3 separate regions of the Homo sapiens genome follow, and all the other regions are linked to region 1. The links are contacts of gene promoters, found by promoter capture Hi-C in blood cells and fetal thymus (Javierre and others, 2016). All regions are on one chromosome and are shown on one strand. The core of a region is centred on a gene start or on the middle of the fragment in contact, and the rest is flanking DNA. Distances in the headings are between cores, read along the strand shown. Region 1 holds the start of HGFAC (HGF activator). Region 2 overlaps HTT (huntingtin). Region 3 overlaps HTT (huntingtin).

Region 1 (2,700 bases), core at 166-2,665:
TGCCAGCTGTGTGTACCACCCACCACAAGCCCGCATCCATCCTGCTCCCAGCACCCACCATGCCTCCACATTCACCGTGCCCCCAGGGCCCACCATGACCTCCCCCCCAACCCCCAACCCCCCATTCACCGTGCCCCCAGCACCCACCATGCCTCCACATTCACCGTGCCCCCAGGGCCCACCATGACCTCCCCCCCAACCCCCAACCCCCCATTCACCGTGCCCCAGGGCCCACCATGACCTCCCCCCCAACCCCCAACCCCCCATTCACCGTGCCCCCAGGGCCCACCACGCCTCCATGTGCACTGTGCCCCCTGGGGCCCACGGTGTCAAGCTGGGTGGTCAGTGGGTGTCCATTCTCTCTCCCTCTGCACAGACAGGCAAATGGGGGGCAGAGAGAGGGGTTTTAGGGGATACAGGGAGGCAGCTTCAGCCCTCGCTGGTCTCCAGGCCACAGTGGTTCACTCACCCCTCCTCCCACCTCGGCAGCCCTGGGATGTCGCTGCTGACTCAGGAGGAACCCGAGGTGCCGTAGCGGCTGCTCCAATATTGCAGAAGAGGTTCCTCAGGCAGCTCTGCCCACAGCCCCAAGTCACGAATTCCGTGACTCCAGCTCCATCCCAGGCCCCAGGGTACCTGGCCCAGGGTTGTGCTGCCGCAGACTTGGCCTGTACCATCCAGGCGGCGGTGGGGAGCTGGGGTTGGAAAGGCTTCTTGGAGTGGACTCCTGGGTCTGTCTGGGAGACGGGGAGGAAGGGACACTCTGAACATCACCAGGGGCTGCTGGGGGGCCCTGGCCACCCCCAGAGTCAGAACAGGCAGGTGGGGCAGGATCTCAGGTCATCCTATGCTACACTCAGCCATTGCGTGGCCCCTCTCCTCCCTGTGCCTGGCCTTTTGGCCAGCCCTGGGGCCACCGAGAGGATGCAGCACCGAACCCTCCAGGAGCCCCCAGTGCTGCCGTCTGTGGGACAGGGACAATCCCATCCCCACTGCTACTGTCTGTGCTGTGCTGGGCACAGAGCTGGACACCTCCAAGGCCCAGCGCCCGTAGTGGCTCTCATCATGGACAATTCACAGGCAGATGGTGGCCAGCTCTGTGGCCTGCAGGGACTGGGAGCGGCGCCAGACCATCTAGGCCCCAACCTATCTGCATTATCCTGGAAGACTTCCTGGAGGAGGCTTCTAAGCTGAGGCCCAAGGACCATGTCAGGTCTAGGACTAGGACCAGTGCAGGCCGAGGCCAGAGAGACAGCTGGGCTTCCAGGTAGGGTCAAAGTGAGGTGGGCAGCAGGTGTGGGGGCCAGGGGACTCGGGGACTTCCTCTCCGGCTGGGCCCGCCTGACGTGGGAGGCAGCCAGGGTTAATCATTTCCACGAAGCCTTGACCCCACCTGCCTTGGCCGCTCTGCTCCCGCCTCCCACTGCCCCTCAGGCCAGCTCAGGAGCCATGGGGCGCTGGGCCTGGGTCCCCAGCCCCTGGCCCCCACCGGGGCTGGGCCCCTTCCTCCTCCTCCTCCTGCTGCTGCTGCTGCTGCCACGGGGGTTCCAGCCCCAGCCTGGCGGGGTGAGCACTGACCTTGTCGCAGTGCGACCAGAGGTTCCCAGTGGCTACTTGGGGTCCTTGGGAGGAGGCCAGAGGGAGGGTCGCCACAGAGCGTGGGGATTTGAGGGGGCGGGGGTCCGAGCAGGGGGCTTACGTTGAAAGCTGGCCCTCACAGGGCAGGTGGGTGCTGGACTGGCCTTGGAGGCTGGGGCCTGGGCTCACGGAGCCCCACCTGGGGGCTGTCATCCCTGTGCGGCCTGGCCTGGGCCCCTATGGGTCTGGGGGCTGCCCCCTCTCTCTGGACCTCTGTTGGGTCTGGATGCGTGAGGTTGGGGGAACCTCCCAGGGCCTCCTAGCTGCTCCCATCACCAAAAACTGACGTCAGGGTTTAAGCTTGGTGGGTAGCAGTGCCTGGGCCTGGGCAGTGACCCTGAGCAGGTGTTAACTAGGGGCCGAGGGCGGGGAAGGTGTCAGGGCCTGGCTGAGGCCTCAGGAATGTCGTGTGTCCTCCTGGAACCTGCTCCGAGATCTGGGGGCCCCAGTATGGAAACAGGCTCAGGGCTGTGACCTCCTGCCCGGCAGGACCTGAGTGTGAGGGTCTGTCCCACACTGACACCCTTTCTGCTCCTCCTAGAACCGTACGGAGTCCCCAGAACCTAATGCCACAGCGACCCCTGCGATCCCCACTATCCTGGTGACCTCTGTGACCTCTGAGACCCCAGCAACAAGTGCTCCAGAGGCAGAGGGACCCCAAAGTGGGGGGCTCCCGCCCCCGCCCAGGGCAGTTCCCTCGAGCAGTAGCCCCCAGGCCCAAGGTGGGTCAGGTGGGCCTGGGAGGAGGTGTCGTGCTTCACCTTAGGGCTGGGTGGGAGGAGCATGGCTGCGGCTGGAGGTCCTGAGGGGCTCGGGTGCCCCTCGAGGGAGCCCTGACCCTGCCACCCCCTCCCCACAGCACTCACCGAGGACGGGAGGCCCTGCAGGTTCCCCTTCCGCTACGGGGGCCGCATGCTGCATGCCTGCACTTCGGAGGGCAGTGCACACAGGAAGTGGTGGGTCCGGGCAGCCGGGGCACCCGAGCTGGGGTCACCTGCCCCACGCTGCCTGCTTTTCTGGGAGCCGGGCACACAGTAGGCGCTCACCACGCAGCAGGCGGAC
Region 2 (2,700 bases), core at 187-2,686, 280 kb before region 1:
TGTTGGTCTGCCTTGCTAGGTTGGGGAAGTTCTCCTGGATAATATCCTGAAGAGTGTTTTCTAACTTGGTTCTATTCTCCCCATCACTTTCAGGTACACCAATCAAACGTAGATTTGGTCTTTTCACATAGTCCCATATTTCTTGGAGGCTTGGTTCATTTCTTTTCACTCTTTTTTCTCTAATCTTGTCTTCTCGCTTTATTTCATTAATTTGATCTTCAATCACTGATATCCTTTCTTCTGCTTGATTGAATCGGCTGTCGAAGCTTGTGTATACTTCACAAAATTCTCGTTCTGTGGTTTTTAGCTCCATCAGGTCATTTAAGCTCTTCTCTACACTGGTTATTCTAGCCATTAGTCTAACATTTTTTTCAAGGTTTTTAGCTTCCTTGTGATGGGTTAGAACATGCTCCTTTAGCTCGGAGAAGTTTGTTATTACCGACCTTCTGAAGCCTACTTCTGTCAATTCATCAAACTCATTCTCCATCCAGTTTTGTTCCCTTGCTGGTGAGGAGTTGTGATCCTTTGGAGGAGAAGAGGTGTTCTGGTTTTTGGAATTTTCAGCCTTTCTGCTATGGTTTCTCCCCATCATTGTGGTTTTATCTACCTTTGGTCTTTGATGTTGGTGACCTACGGATGGGGTTTTGGTGTGGGTGTCCTTTTTGTTGATGTTGATGCTATTCCTTTCTGTTTGTTAGTTTTCCTTCTAACAGACAGGCCCCTCAGCTGCAGGTCTGTTGGAGTTTGCTGGAGGTCCACTCCAGGCCCTGTTTGCCTGGGCATCACCAGCAGAGGCTGCAGAACAGCAAATATTGCTGCCTGATCCTTCCTCTGGAAACATCGTCCCAGAGCACGAAGGTGTCTGCCTGTATGAGGTGTTTGTTGGCCCCTACTGGGAGGTGTCTCCCAGTCAGGCTACATGGGGGTCAGGGACCCACTTGAGGCAGTCTGTTCATTATCGGAGCTTGAATGCCGTACCGGGAGAACCACTGCTCTCTTCAGAGCTGTCAGGCACGTATGTTTAAATCTGGAGAAGCTGTCTGCTGCCTTTTGTTCAGATGTGCCCTTCCCCCAGAGGTGGAATCTAGAGAGGCAGTAGGCCTTGCTGAGCTGCAGTGGGCTCTGCCCAGTTCGAGCTTCCCTGCTGCTTTGTTTACACTGTGAGCATAGAACCACCTACTCTAGCCTCAGCAGTGGTGGACACCCCTCCCCCAGCCAAGCTCCTGCATCCCAGGTCGATTTCAGAGTGCTGCGCTAGCAGTGAGCAAGGCCCCATGGGCGTGGGACCCGCTGAGCCAGGCACAGGAGAGAATCTCCTGGTCTGCTGGTTGTGAAGACTGTGGGAAAAGTGCAGTATTTGGGCAGGAGTGTACTGCTCCTTCAGGTACAGTCACTCATGGCTTCCTTTGGCTTGGAAAGGGAAGTCCCCCGACCCCTTGTGCTTCCCAGGTGAGGCAACACCCCGCCCTGCTTCGGCTTGCCCTCCGTGGGCTGCACCCACTGTCCAGCAAGTCCCAGTGAGATGAACTAGGTACCTCAGTTGGAAATGCAGAAATCACCTGTCTTCTGTGTCGATCTCACTGGGAGCTGTAGACTGGAGCTGTTCCTATTCGGCCATTTTGGAAGCATCCCTTGTTTTTTGAGGTGGAGTCTTGCTCTGTCGCCCAGGCTGACGTGCATCGGCACAATCTCGGCCCACTGCAACCTTTGCCTCCTGGTTTCAAGCGATTCTCCTACCTCAGCCTCCGGAGTAGCTGGGATTACAGGCACCTGCCACCATGCCTGGCTAATTTTTTGTATTTTTAGTGGAGATGGGGTTTCACCACATTGGCCAGGCTAGTCTCGAACTCCTGACCTTGTGATCCACCCACCTCAGCCTCCTAGAGTGCTGGGATCACAGGTGTCAGCCACCACGCCCAGCCATATTTTCAGATCTCCCTCTCTTTGCCCTAAACCACTGTGCTTAATAAGTAGTTTTTAGTGGCCAGCAGTCTCCATGTATAACACATTTTAGCAAAATGGAAAATACTATATGTTTTAAATTTGAACGTGAGATTATACTGAAATAAAAATCATCTAACTGGGATTCTTTAAATAGTAAGATTTTCTTTTTTGTATGTGGGTTTTTTTTTAACCTTATTATTATGACTGTCATATATAGAAATGGCTGTTTTTCAGTTACAGTCAGTGAATGTATCAAATGCTGCCTTATCCAAATAATAAAAGTAAATTATTAATAAGTCACAATTTAATGAAGATTGATGTTAGTTGATCTTTATATTCTTGAAATCAGCCATATGGTTGTGTGTGTATGTATATATTTTTAAAGGTACATAAAGATAATAAGCTCATCTCTGAAAATTTTTACATTTGGCATAAGAATAACTGGATAATTAAGCATCTTATTCTCTGGCCTGTGTCTTTACAGTTAAAGGTAGATTTACTCACCTCTCCTTTTTTGTTTTTCTAAGTTCATCTTTTTTGCTGTTTCAAGACAGAGGCCCATTTTAGCTTTCTCGCATATCCTTTTGTTTGTACTTTGGAAGCCTCACCTGCTTAATTGTTGAGTTTTTATCCGTGGTCTTTTAGAGGGGGATATGTAGGGTAGAAGCTTTCACAGGTTCTTGTTTGCACTTGGCCCCTGACTGTTTTGAGGAATCTCCCTCACTGACTCACAGCATGGCAAGGTTTCAGATCTCT
Region 3 (2,700 bases), core at 137-2,636, 320 kb before region 1:
TGACTTGAGAAAATCCGTCTGTCCCCAGCTCTGCGTCTGCCTCCACTGCCCAGTCACCTCCTCTCCATGCTCTTGGGGCTGGGCCCTACCCCACCATGCAGTGCTGCCCTGGAGCAGTGAGCTTGGTGGGTCCTGTCTGGCATGAGAGCTGCCTTTGGGAGCTGGATCCCAGCCTCTACCACTGGGTCTGGTGCCTAGCAGGCTATGGATAAACTTCTGCTGACTCCGGCCTCTCCTAAGCCACTGCAACGTGGTCGGTGTAGTGCACAGTGTGTGTGCAGCGTGGCCTTACTCACAGCCTCCACATTAGAGAGAATCTGACTGAAGTCTTACTGCTGCCTCGTGTGAACATAAATGTTTGCCAGAACCATGAGCAGGAAATGTTAATCTGCCTTGTTTCCTGTCCTTTACACGGAAGAATTTTTTTCTGTATGGAATGCGTGCCTTACAAATAATGAGTGGAAATACCCATCGCTAATGAAAAGTTATACTTGACTGTTAGTCAGCTAAATAATCTGAGATTTCTAATACTTTTAATTTGGCTTTTACAATGCAATTTATCTTAGCTTTTTTGATTTCTTAGGTCATATCTTTAGAACTATATATTTGAATGTTAATGTAATTTTCATATTGAAATTAAAATGTTGAACTGCGATGTTAAGTGTTTCCTGTGGAAAAACGTTCACATTTTCTCTAGTTTTAAAGTTGAATCAAGCTGTTTGAAGATTTTCACATTTCTTCTAGATTTTATCAGCTTGTTACTTTATCTGTCACTTTCTGTGATTTGCAGCTGGAGGGGGTTCCTCATGCAGCCCTGTCCTTTCAAGAAAACAAAAAGGTGATTATTTCAGAAATCAGAGTCTTGTGTTGAATCTTACTGATTTTCTTGTATTTCTGTAATGTAATGTATCTTGTATTTCTTGTAATACTGTATTGGACTCTGTGTATATCTCTTCTCAGATGAGTGATTATATGTGTGAATGTTGCTGGAATCTGATAACCAGGCCTGAATAGTTTTGTAGGGTGGCTTTTAAAAATTACTTTCATATCAGAATTGCTTTGTCATAAATTTTGAACGCATCATAAATTTCTAATGTTCGGGGTCAGCAGACTTTTTTTGTAAAGGGACAGAGTGTAAACATCTTAGCTTTATGGGCCATATGGTCTCTTTTGCAACATTCAGCTCTGCCCTGTGACAGGAATGCAGTTGTAAAGACATGAGCTACTGGCCAGCTATGTTCCAGTAGAACTTTACTTACAGAAACAGACAGGCTGTAGTTTGCCAATACCTGCCTTAGGGAATGTGTTGTTATATTTTGTGAGTTACCTTCTCAGTAAATTTTATTTAGTATTAGTCAGGAATATTATTAAGTAGCTTCTTTTCCAGCCTGGTCAACATAGTGAGACCCGGTCTCTACCAAAACAAAACAAAACAAAAAAACAGCCACGCATGTGGCATGTGCCTGTAGCCTCAGCTGCTGCTCAGGGGGCTGAGGCAAGAGGATTGTTTGAGCCCAGGAGTTTGAGGTCACAGTGAGCTGTAGTCATGCCACTGCACTCCAGCCTAGGCAACAGAATGAGACCTTGTGTCTTAAAAAAAAAAAGTTTCCTTTGTTGGGTTATTTTAATTTGGACCTGGTTATCATTTTTCAGCCATATTTAACTTTGTACATATCAGAATGTTCTGATAAAACTTAACTTTTATTAAAGTGTTTGTGATATAATCTGCTAGTTTTGGTACACATTATCTTTTGCAATGCCAGTTATTTTCTTTTCCAGTGTGGGTTTGCATAGGAAAAGAATTGCTGTCACTTTCTATTTTGAAATCTTAAAAGACTGATCCTTTTTTGTGTCATGATTTGAGTATTTAATTGAGAGCCTAATGCCTAATATTATTTGCAGTATTAAATGGGATCTTAACAGGAATAGCATTCTAGCCTTCATTGAATTAAGTAAACATTTCTTAAGAGAACTTGGAATCTATAATATTTGCGTCATCATAGTATGAGATACTTAATCAAGTTTGAGATTTTAGTGAAACATTGTTTAGAAGCCAAAAGGATTCTAGGAAAAATTAATGTCTATATTCTTGAATTAGGAGAGATTTTGGGACGTGTGACTAAGTTACGCTGACACTTGTTTGTTTCTTAGTCGCTTTTTCCAGTGGCGGTGAGAACGAAGATGACTGATTCACATTGCTCAGATGAGTTTATCCTCTTCTGGCTGGGACATGGGATATATCCTGTCTCTTTTAAGCCTTTTTGGTATTTTTCCCCCATTGAGAGCTGTGTCTTCAAACTCTTCTGTTATAGCTGGAAAATCCTTTTTAAGTGAAATCTGCCCAAATTATAAGACAGATGAAGGTAGAGTTGTGTTGGATATAGGATTAGGGTGAAAGTAGTGGGGGTGTCCTGGAGCCTCTCTTCTGGTGGCAGCCTAGCTCTTGTGCCTTTGAGGAAATTACCCTGGGGACGGCTCTGTGGAACATATTTGCAAACCACTGATTTGGAAGATAGAGATGGCTTTTGTTAAGATCTGAATTCACCTTTTTGGCATTTTATTTGATTTCTCAAGGTAAAGAACTTATTTTGTAATAAAGTTTCCTATTATTTAGTAGATAGGCCAAGTTGCTGTGTTAATTCCATGTAGATTTTGGGTTTCCTTTGCTCATTTTTTCACTCTTAATCTCACATCATTGTA

Evidence for each region. The method cuts DNA at HindIII sites, captures the fragments that hold promoters and counts their contacts. A CHiCAGO score of 5 or more calls a contact.
Region 2: a contact is called between a fragment that was not itself captured here and the fragment with the promoter of HGFAC in region 1, in 1 of 17 cell types (naive CD4 T cells). The highest score is 6.1, in naive CD4 T cells.
Region 3: a fragment that was not itself captured here is called in contact with the fragment with the promoter of HGFAC in region 1 in 3 of 17 cell types (total CD8 T cells, fetal thymus and naive CD4 T cells); the score reaches 6.6 in total CD8 T cells.

Annotation. Positions count from the first base shown.
Region 1 is chr4:3,440,553-3,443,252 of GRCh38, forward strand. It overlaps HGFAC (HGF activator), which reads left to right and starts at 1,416. Exons shown (of 14, transcript NM_001528.4): 1 at 1,416-1,566; 2 at 2,180-2,360; 3 at 2,498-2,594. The coding sequence starts at 1,450. The HindIII fragment of the contact is 2,021 bases long and covers 1-1,936 here.
Region 2 is chr4:3,165,449-3,168,148 of GRCh38, forward strand. The region is part of intron 29 of HTT (huntingtin); the gene reads left to right. Among named protein-coding and RNA genes, the nearest start is that of MSANTD1, 82 kb to the right of the region's middle. The HindIII fragment of the contact is 2,345 bases long and covers 265-2,609 here.
Region 3 is chr4:3,122,099-3,124,798 of GRCh38, forward strand. It overlaps HTT (huntingtin), which reads left to right. Exons shown (of 67, transcript NM_001388492.1): 10 at 791-838. Among named protein-coding and RNA genes, the nearest start is that of HTT, 49 kb to the left of the region's middle. The HindIII fragment of the contact is 4,628 bases long and covers 1-2,700 here.